2 separate regions of the Homo sapiens genome follow, and region 2 is linked to region 1. The links are contacts of gene promoters, found by promoter capture Hi-C in human tissues and cell types (Jung and others, 2019). All regions are on one chromosome and are shown on one strand. The core of a region is centred on a gene start or on the middle of the fragment in contact, and the rest is flanking DNA. Distances in the headings are between cores, read along the strand shown.

Region 1 (5,439 bases), core at 742-3,241:
GGGTTTCACCATGTTGGTCAGGCTGGTCTTGAACTCCTGACCTCGTGATCCGCCCGCCTCGGCCTCCCAAAGTGGTGGGATTTAGCCACCGCACCCAGTGGCTTAAAAGTTTTTTTACTTGTTTGTTTTTTGGTTTACACTAGGAATATAGAGGTACTTCCTCACCTTGAAAAACAGCATCTACAAAACTCCCACAACTAATGTCATACTTAATGGTGAGAGACTGAATGCATTCGCCACCCCCCCTTTTTTTTTTTGAGACGGAGTCTCGCTCTTGCCCAGGCTGGAGTGCAGTGGCGGGATCTTGGCTCACTGCAAGCTCCGCCTCCCGGGTTCACGCCATTCTCCTGCCTCAGCCTTCCGAGTAGCTGCGACTACAGGCGCCCACCACCACGCCCGGCTAATTTTTTTTGTATTTTTTAATAAAGACGAGGTTTCACTGTGTTAGCCAGGATGGTCTTGATCTCCCGACCTTGTGATTCACCCGCCTCGGCCTCCCAAAGTGCTGGGATTACAGGCGTGAGCCACCGCGCCCGGCCTGCATTCCCCTTAAAACAGGGAACAAGGCAAGGATGTCTAATGTTATCACTTTTATTTAACAGACTACTGGAAATCTGCACAATAAGGAAGAAAAAGAAAAAGCACTCAGCTTAGAAAAAAAAAAACTCCCTATTTATTTGCAGATGAAATTATTATCTATGTAAAAATTCCAAGGAATCTATACAACCCCCCCTAAAATTAGTAAGGGAGTTCAGCAAGATGGCAGGTTACAAGATCCGCACACGAAACCAGTTATTCAGAATGCAGCACAGAGGGACAAAAAGATGGAAAATATAGACGGTAGGTTAAAAAGCTTCTTATGTTCGAGTTCCAGAAGGAGAGAGAAATGAGACAGGCATCTGAAGAAAAATGACTGCGATTTCCCAAAACTGGTGGAAGATACCAACCCACATATTATAGAAATCCAAAGACTTCCAAGCAAGAAACAAAACAAAAGGAAGAAAAAATATCCCACTTAGACTTATGATAGCGAAACTGCAGAACAGTGAAAGATGGAGAGCTGAGGACGGAGAAATCCACAGGGGCCAAGTGAAAACAACGTTTACACCTTGGACTTAACGATAAAAGCGAACTCGTACTTGCACAGTCATTGGCGCCTGCCAAACCCCTTACACATATTAGGTGATTTACTCCTCACAGCAAATGTATTAGGTAGATTCTATTACTGCTTGTATTTTACAGATGAGGGAGTTGAGATTTGGTTATTTGCCCAAAGGAGCACACTTTATCGATGTAGCGATAGGATTTTGAACAAGGTAGTTCTCGCTCCAGTTTTGTGCCCTTAACCACTACACATACTTGTTTCTCCAAAGGGCACTGGGAAAATGGGAAGCCACTGAAAGACTTTAAACCGGGGAGTGATAACATTTGTTTCTGGAAGATCCTGGCACCACTGTGGATAGTGGATTAAGTGGGGCTAAAGGTGGAAATAAGCCGCTGGAATAATGTAGCCCCAAACAGGGAGGGCCTGAATGAACTAGTGAGGTGGCAGAAGGCGCAGGCACAAGCAAATGGATTCGCGAGCTCTTCCGGAGTCGAGTCCATAGAGCTTGACCTGGGATCGCGTTTTACTCCAGGTGCAGAGTGAGGAAAACCGCGTTTCTGACGCAGGCAATTCGGTGGATAGTGAAAGTCATTCACTGAAGTGGACTGAAGCGGGGCGCACAGGAGACTCGGAGGCCTGAGGACGAGCTAGGCTTTGGACGCGGTGGATTTGTGGCGTCTGTAAAGCCGGCGGCCAGCCGAGGGGCAGGAAACGGCAGAAAGCAGAAGCCGCATCTCTAGAGCTCTCCGAGAAGGACCTTCGAGAGCCCCGGCCTTAGCGAAGCTCGGCACGGCGCTGCACGCGTCTCCGGAAGCCGCGCGCGCAGGCGCAGAGCGGGGGGGCGCCCCCTGGCGGCGCAGGGACCGCCCCCAACCTCGCGCCGCCGCCGCCCGCCTCAGCCCAACATGGCGATGCACAACAAGGCGGCGCCGCCGCAGATCCCGGACACCCGGCGGGAGCTGGCGGAGCTCGTGAAGCGGAAGCAGGAGCTGGCGGTGAGGGGCTAGGACAGGGGTTGCACGGCATGGGGCTCCGCGCCCGCCCCGCCTCCAGGCCCCAAGCCCGGCCGCGCTAGGCCGTTTGTTACTCCGGGGGCGCGGCGCGGCGGGCCGGGTGCTCGGCGGCCTGAGGCCGGGTGCGCATTCTGCGGCCCGCCGGCGGTTCAGCTTCCCGGCTGTGCGAATCCGGAGCCGGGAGAGAGCCGGGAGCGCGGGAGGGGGAGGGGAAGCGGCAGCCGCAGGAGGGGGCGTGGAGGGAGGACGGTGCCGGGGCCCGGGGAGAGGGCGCTAGGAAGGGCGAGCGTCAGTGAGCCGCGGGGGTGGGCGAGGCGGGCTAGTCCGTGATCTTTGCGGGGAGGGGGTGGGGAAGGAGGCTAGTGTGGGAGGGGGACCCAGTCACCCCGTCTGGACTTTGGAGGCTGGTGGGGAGCGTGTTCTTTTTGGTACTGGGAGTAGATCCGTTGAATGGAGGTTTTTGATAGACAGGGTTGTGATGTGTTTGGGAACATCTAGAAGGTGACAGGCGAGGGAGAAGAACACATTCCGGAGAATTCAGAATTGTGACAGGCACCCAAGGCCCAATGCACTCTGGTGGCTAAGCTCTTCCTGCCCCCGCGTCTCGGCTTGGGCACCCGGGAGGCCCCTCTCACCTGAAGCTGCCCTTCTAGGTTTCCATAGCAACTGGCAGCCCGGTGTCGGCGGCCTCTCTTGAGCCTGCGGGGAGGGGAGCGAGTTGACGCTGAAAGGCTGCTCACCTTTCCCTCTCCTGGTAGCGATACCTTTTGTGCGTGGGAGTGGACATCGCCCAAGTTCTGCGTTAGCCTGGGCTCTTGACTCATGGTTTCCGTGAATCCTCTAAAGTATATGCAAAATTTCGCGTGTGTGTGTATTTTTCTGGAGACATGCTTTATACATTCAGGGGTCCATCACCCCCAAAGGTCTAGACTGTCTTAGTCCTAAACGGCTCCTCCTCCCCGTATCTTCCATCTCTCCACAGGGTGGTTTAGTGTGGGCAAGCTTGCGTTTACGAGTCTAATATCAGGATTTCATTTTGGCCAGACTTAAGTGTTTGCATTTAAAAGGTATCATTCATGTCCTTGTTTTTCATCTCTCAGGAAACATTGGCAAATTTGGAGCGACAGATCTATGCTTTTGAGGGAAGCTACCTGGAAGACACTCAGATGTATGGCAATATTATTCGTGGCTGGGATCGGTATCTGACCAACCAAAAGTGAGTGTCGAAAGCCTGTAGTGTTCCTATTGTGCCCTAGTAACGTTTGTTTTTAGGACTGTATGCTCTTAGTGGCAACTTTGCTGGAGGCAGTAGTAAAGTAGTGGTGTGATCTGGACTTGAACTCTTGGACTCTGGCTCAGGCACTGCCTCACCGAATAATCTTAGACAAGGCTCACATCTGTAAAATAGCGAAAGTTGGGCCTATGGCACAGGGTTGTGTGAGGCTTAAATACAGTATCTTTATACAATAGCATTCTATTAAATTTTTTACACATTTTAATCAGTCATGAGTTCTACCCTCACAGTATTTTTCTTTTCTTTTTTTCTTTTTCCTCCTGAGTAGCTGGGATTACAGGTGCGTGCCACCATGCCTGGCTAATTTTTTTATTTTTAGTAGAGACGAGGTTTCTCCATGTTGGCCTGGCTGGTCTCGAACTCCTGACCTCAGGTGATCTGCTGCCTTGGCCTCCCAAAGTGTTGGGATTACAGGTGTGAGCCACCACGCCTGGCCACTTTTCTTTTTTCTAAGAGACAGGGTCTCACGCTGTTGTCCAGGCTGGAGTGCAGTAGCACGAACTTAGCTCACTGCAGCCTCAGACTCCTGGGCTGAAGTGATCCTCCCACCTCAGCCTCCCAATTAGCTGGGACTACAGGCACACCATACTGTACCTGACTAATTAAAAACTTTTTTTTGTAGAAGTGGGATCTCACTTTGTTGCTCAGGCAGGCCTGGAACTCCTGGTTTCAAGCAGTCCTCCTGCCTCAGCTTCTCAAAGTGTTGGAATTAAAGGGGTGAGCCACCACGCCCAACTGACCCTCACAATTTTTGCCATACCTGTGTGCCAGCTGTACCACTGCTTACTTAGTAATATTATTTTTAAAAAATTTCTAAACTTTTAGAAAATCTTCAAATTATAGGAAAATGGGAAGAATAGTATATGAACACTTGATACCCTCCTACCTATATTCACAAATTGTTAATGTGTTGTGACATTTGCTTTCTCTTACTTTCTATAATATATATTAATATAAGCACACATCTATATTTACATTTCACATTTTTAAATTGTGAAATAATTATAGATTCATAGGGAGTTGGCAGAATGGTCTCTTGTACCCTTCATCTGGTTTTCCCCAATGGTTGTGTTTTATGTAGCTATAATACAGTATCAAAGCCAGAAAATTGACATTGGTACAATGTATATATATAGTTCTGTGTCACTTTATCTTGTGTGTAGATTCATGTAACCACAATGAAGTTACTGAACTATTCCATTACCACAAAGATCTTCCTCATGCCACTCCTTTGTAGTTATATCTCCCAGTCCCCCTACCTTTTTTTCCCACTTAACGGTTTGAAAGTTAGATGCAGGTAAATGACACTTTGCACCTAAATGTGTCAGTAATTACCTCCTGAGTATAGGGCCATTTCTTCTACCTAACCAGTTATTATACCTAGAAAATCAATACTGCATTAATAGTATCTAATACATAGTCTTTATTAAAATTTCCTCAATTGTCCCCAAAAATTCTTTGCTAATTTGTTTTGATCCAGGATTCAGTAAGCATTCATGCATGCATTTGGCTATTATGTCTTAAGATTGAGGAGAGTCACCCTTTTGGTGGTGGTTGTGGTGGTATTCATGACATTGCCTTGTAGAATGTTGCAGTTTCCTGAGATTTTCTGAGGGCAAAACTCATGACTGATTAAAAGGGTCCTGAAAGATCCTTTAAACATTTTTGCAAAAATCTTACATAGGCAATTGGTGTATCCTTTGTTATCTATCTCTAGTTTATCAGGAGGCACATAATGTCACATTGTCCTATTATTTGTTGCTGCTAAGTTTGATCATATGATTTATCTGCTATAAAAGTTCATTTTTTCCCATTGTGATTAACAAGTAATTTTGGATGTTATGCTTTGAGACATTATGAATATACTGCTCCCTCTAAATTTGTATTCAGTTGTTTAGTATACACCGTTGATTCTTATCTGAATCCGTTAGTACACTGGAAGTTGTAAAATAGTGATTCTCTAATTGTATTATTCCCTTTATATTTATTACTGGCATTCTGAAAAAGAGTCTTCCTTTTTTGACTTC
Region 2 (5,439 bases), core at 1,966-4,465, 370 kb before region 1:
ACCTAGAGGGTTTTACAGTTTTTTTCTTTTTTTTTCTTTTGAGACAGAGTCTCACTTTGTCACCCAGTCACTGCAGCCTCCGTCTCCCAGGTTCAAGTGGTTCTTGTGTCTCAGCCTCCCGAGGAGCTGGGATTATAGGCATGTGCCACCACACCCAGCTCATTTTTGTATTTTTGGTAGAGATGGGATTTTGCCATGTTGGCCAGGCTGATCTCGAACTCCTGGCCTCAAGTGAGTTGCCTCCCTTGGCCTTCCAAAGTGCTGGGATTACAGGCATGAGTCACCATGCCCGGCTTGTCAATTACATGATTGAATCCCATACTCTGCCACCATTCATGTGGGTGAGGCGTTAATGACACTGGGTTTCATTTTTCTCATTTAGAACTGAGGGAATTAGATTATCTTTAAGATGCCCCTCTGGTCTGAGATTCTGTGACTCTATTATTAGGAAAATCTCCAGACCAACATATTATACAATCAACAAAATATAAATTTACTTAATTCCACATAGAAATAGTGTTGTTTTAGTAGATAAATTTTACTTTGGCCTCCTTTAGTCTTCTGTGACTTAGATGCTTGTATAGGGGAACTTTTAGCTTTGTATTCATTCATTTTGCCATGGGGACTCATCCACATATGAAAAAAATACTTCTGTTTTTCCAGACAGAATAAATCCAAGTCCGAAATTACTGACATGGTTCGCTCCTCCACTATCACAGTGTCGGACAAGGCTCATATTTTATCCATGCAGAAGTTTGGACTGCGAGATACAATTGTGAAATCACATCTACTACAGAAAGAAGAGGATTACACCTATATCCAGAACTTCAGGTAGCTAACTGGGTTCTAGGATGTTTTCAGAGCAGAATGATCATTTGGCACTCTGGAATTTGAGCACTTCCTCCTATACCTGGATTTGGAGACATACTCTTCTATAGAATCTCTCCCCTCATTTTCAAAATGAGTGATTCCATGCATTCTTTATTAACAGGCATTTATTCTGTGCCCTTTCTAGGTGGGCACGGTGATAGGTGTGGTATAGTGGGAGTGACACGACTTGCAGATAGTTACAGAAATATTTGTGGAGACAAATGGGTACAGAAGAAGGAGCGCCATCCTGATTCTTTTATTTATTTATGTTTTATCTTTTTGAGACAAGGTCTCGCTTTGTTGCCCAGGCTGGAGTGCAGTGGTGCAGTCACAGCTCACTGTACCCTCAGCCTCCTGGGCCCAAGTAACCCTCCCACCTCAGCTGCTGGAGTAGCTGGTAATACACATGTGCTGATTTTTAAATTTTTGTAGAGACAGGGTCGCACTGTGTTGCCCACATGGGTCTCAAGCTCCTGGGCTTGGGCAATCCTCCCGCCTTGGCCTCCCAAATTGTTGAGATTATAAGTGTGAACCACCACACCTGGCCTCTTGATTCTTATGTATCCCTCCAAGGTTTTATACTCCCTTGGCATTCTGGGCCTTTGAAGAAAGTCATTTAAAATGAAATTACTAAAATGAAGTTAGCTGGTGTTTGGTAATCTTTTTAGGCAAGATTACTAAAAGCTAAATTAATAAAGGTTGTGGGATTCTGCTAGATCTTTCAAAATCGTTGCATTGGGACTATAAGATAAAATAACATTGTTTCTAGGGATACAAACTGTGAATTATGGTGAAGAAATAGCCTTTTGAATACTGGTGTTGCTTTCTTGCCAAAAGTAATTACCAAAGCACTTTTCATTTTTTCATTTCAGTAGTATATACAAGGCAAATAATTATGCAGATAATGCCTGGGTAATGGCTGTTTAAAGGAAGTGGGAATGTTCGGAGTAGGCCTATACTATTTGAAGTTGTTATCACAAAAGTAACAGATACCATGACAGACCGCAAGTCACTCCTTGGTGCTGCAGTCCTGGTCTAGGTTAGAAATGACATTTCTTATGTCTCAAAATGCCAGTCCACAGAGACGGAAACCAGCATAAATCAGCATAAAATGCTTTCTCCTGTTATCTCCATAGTGATTCGGAGTCACTAATTATTTCTCTTTGGTGACAGGTTTTTTGCGGGAACATACAATGTAAATGGGCAGTCCCCCAAAGAATGCCTCCGGCTGTGGCTGAGCAATGGTATCCAGGCCCCAGATGTCTATTGTGTAGGGTGAGTGCTTCTCTTCTAGTCCCCTCTCCATCTTCAAGCACACAGAGCTGTGGTTGAAGGATGGGTCTTCACAACAGGTGAAGGATTTGAAAAATGAACAGATGCCTGATAACAGCTGTTTCCCTGTTTGATGTTCTTCCTCATGGCAAGCAAATGTCTGCCACTATTAAAGTGGGGTGCTTGGCATTTAAGTGCTAGTATTTAATTTTTAGTGTAATCTTCTGTTAAAATCCTGAATTGCATCCTGAACTCAGTGCATCCTGAACTGAACTTTATTGCTTGGACATTCAATACATTTTTGGTTACAAAGCAAAACTATCTTCTGCCAGAGAAGAAAGGTTAGCTGAAGAAAGTCCCATCAGTTAGTCTTTTTTTTTTTTAATCTTCTCATCTCTATACTGGGCATTACTAGTGGGGAGGGGCAGCAAAGCTTGTATGGTATATTGAAAAGAACTAGAATTCATAATTTATGTAGACCAAGGTTTGAATCCCAGTTTGCCACTTGGTGCTTGTGTGAACTAGGGGTTACAGATGTAAAATAGGGACACTTCGAACTACTTCATAGGCTGGTCATGAAAAGAAAATGGGTTTTTGTTTGCAACAGCACCTGCAAAGTTCCTTGGCATTTAGTTCCTTGGCTCTAAATGTTTATTTTTTCCTCCTGAGGGTCCTGAAGTTTAGCTAGAAAGCTAGGGCTTATGCACCTAAACCAATCTGAGAATGTGTCATTTGCACATTACTTTTCTTTACTATCTAACTGGTTGCTTCTCAAAATAGGTTCCAGGAGCTTGATCTGAGTAAGGAAGCTTTTTTCTTTCACGATACCCCAAAGGAGGAAGAGTGGTTCAAAGCTGTGTCAGAGGGTCTTCATCCAGATGCCAAATATGCAAAGGTAAGAGAGGAGTCAGGGACCTCTTAATTTTATGTTGCCATGCAGGGAAATTCCAAGATCATTTTTCACCTTTTCCATGACCTTTATCTTAAGCCAGTCTTAATTATCCCGCAATTTTCATTTCCAGATCTTCCAGAAGGGGTGCCTCCGGGTGGGAAAGATGCAGGGTCTCGCCACTCGTAGGTTAGCACATAGCATGCTTGGTGAATTGAACAGATGATTACCTGTGTTCTAGTGTGGAGAAGGAGACACGTGAATACTCTCAGCCAGCTTCCAGACTATGTTTCCTTTGGGGTATTTATTCCTGTTTGCAATTTCTATTTAATGCCATGTCTCTCTTTTCCAGGTGAAGCTTATCCGACTGGTTGGGATTATGCTGCTGTTATATGTCAAACAGGAGCATGCAGCTTATATCTCAGAAGTGGAAGCCGAGACTGTGGGGACAGGAATCATGGGGAGGATGGTGAGTCCTTGGTTGGTTTGTTTGGCACATTGAGGACCTTAGCTCCTGAGGTATTGACCACTTCTGATGACACAGTGACTACACGTGTCCCAGTTTGAAGGTGCCAATATTCCAAGATGAATCATACCCTCAAGCAGGGCTCAGTCGAGCAAACTATTTAGAAACTGTTTTAGTGAACTACCTGCTGATTTAACCAATTAGCGCCTGTCCTCATATTCCCCAACACTAGAGCCTCCAGTTGATCCTCCCATTTCACCCATGAAGTATGTTGCAGAAACTATGCTGGGTCATTCAGAAAAACAAAGAATGCTGACAGTAGGTTTGCAATTTCCTCTTCTTATTGAGGCCATTAAAGTTCTGTTTTTAGGTTCTTCTGTGAGAGCTTAGCTTTGTGTTTTCAAAGGGTACCTATGGTTTGCCTGTGATTTAGTGAAAAGAACACTGGATTAAGGGAGCTAGGTTTTGGGGCTGGGTGTGGTGGCTCACACCTGTAATCCCAGCACTTTGGGAGGCTGAGGTGGGTGGATCACTTGAGGCCAGGAGTTCGAGAGAGTTAGGTTGTGGATTCAGCTTTGCCATTGACTGGCTAGTCATTCTGCCTTCTTTTTTTTTTTAATCTGTACAATATAGATAATACCACAGGATTATTATAAAGATTAAGACAAAACATTTTGAAAGTCTGTAGGGTTTTTTTTTTGTTTGTTTGTTTTTGAGATGGAGTCTCACTCTGTCTCCCAGGCTGGAGTGCAGTGGCGTGATCTCAGCTCACTGCAACCTCTCCCTCCCGCGTTCAACCAGTGCTCTGCCTCAGCCTCCCGAGTAGCTGGGATGACAGGCGCCTGCCACCACACCCAGCTAATTTTTGTATTTTTAGTAGAGACGGGGTTTCACCATCTTGGCCAGGCTGGTCTTGAACTCCTGACCTCATGATCCACCCGCCTCGGACTCCCAAAGTGCTGGGATTACAGGCGTGAGCCACCGTGCCCGGCCAGAAAGTTTGTAGGTTTAAGTGACTGACACAATTAAGTTTGAATTGGATTTCTTTGGGGATCCTTTCCATAGGGCAACAAGGGAGGCGTGGCGATCAGGTTCCAGTTCCACAACACCAGCATCTGCGTTGTGAATTCTCACTTGGCAGCCCACATTGAAGAGTATGAGAGGAGGAACCAGGACTATAAGGACATTTGTTCTCGAATGCAGTTTTGTCAGCCTGACCCAAGCCTTCCCCCTCTCACCATCAGCAACCATGAGTGAGTCTGGGCTTCCACCCCATGCGGTTCACCATGAGTACATAGAGTTGTGGGCTCTGTCTTTTCATGGGGAGATGCCTGGTGGTGGTTTCCTATTGCTGCAATGGTGGTAGCTCCCACCTCTTGGTTATACATGGATTATATCTCTTGAAAATATTTAGTTTCCTAACTTGCTATCTGGCAGATCTCTTGAGTCTTTCTCTTTTCTTACTTTTTTTTTTTTCGAGATGGAGTCGCGCTCTGTCGCCTAGGCTGGAGTACAGTGGCGTGATCTAGGCTCACTACAGGCTCCGCCTCCCAGGTTCATACCGTTCTCCTGCCTCAGCCTCCTGAGTAGCTGGGACTACAGGCGCCTGCCACCATGCCTGGCTAATTTTTTGTATTTTTTAGTGGAGACGGGGTTTCACTGTGTTAGCCAGGATGGTCTCAATCTCCTGACCTCATGATCCGCCCACCTCGGCCTCCCAGAGTGCTGGGATTACAGGCGTGAGCCACCGTGCCCGGCCTTCTTATTTTATTTTTAAATTTTTATTTGCATGTCATCCTTGCTCAGGGACTATGCTAATCTTCTCTGTATCATTTCAATTTTAGTATATGTGCTGCCAAAGCAAGCACACTCTAGAGTCTTTCTCAAGCATCATGTGTCCTTGGGAAGGTATAAGTTTTATTTATTTATATATTTATTTTTG

Evidence for each region. Contacts are between HindIII fragments. The study calls those that stand out against the background at their distance.
Region 2: a fragment that was not itself captured here is called in contact with the fragment with the promoter of MEAF6 in region 1 in 1 of the 25 tissues and cell types used here (aorta).

Annotation. Positions count from the first base shown.
Region 1 is chr1:37,511,318-37,516,756 of GRCh38, reverse strand. It overlaps MEAF6 (MYST/Esa1 associated factor 6), which reads left to right and starts at 1,991. Exons shown (of 7, transcript NM_001270875.3): 1 at 1,991-2,100; 2 at 3,219-3,334. The coding sequence starts at 2,011. RefSeq lists a silencer at 1,807-2,406. The HindIII fragment of the contact is 13,544 bases long and covers 1-5,122 here.
Region 2 is chr1:37,884,949-37,890,387 of GRCh38, reverse strand. It overlaps INPP5B (inositol polyphosphate-5-phosphatase B), which reads left to right. Exons shown (of 24, transcript NM_005540.3): 9 at 664-831; 10 at 2,044-2,145; 11 at 2,923-3,037; 12 at 3,384-3,500; 13 at 4,563-4,750. It also overlaps the pseudogene RNU6-584P. Among named protein-coding and RNA genes, the nearest start is that of MTF1, 28 kb to the right of the region's middle. The HindIII fragment of the contact is 4,836 bases long and covers 798-5,439 here.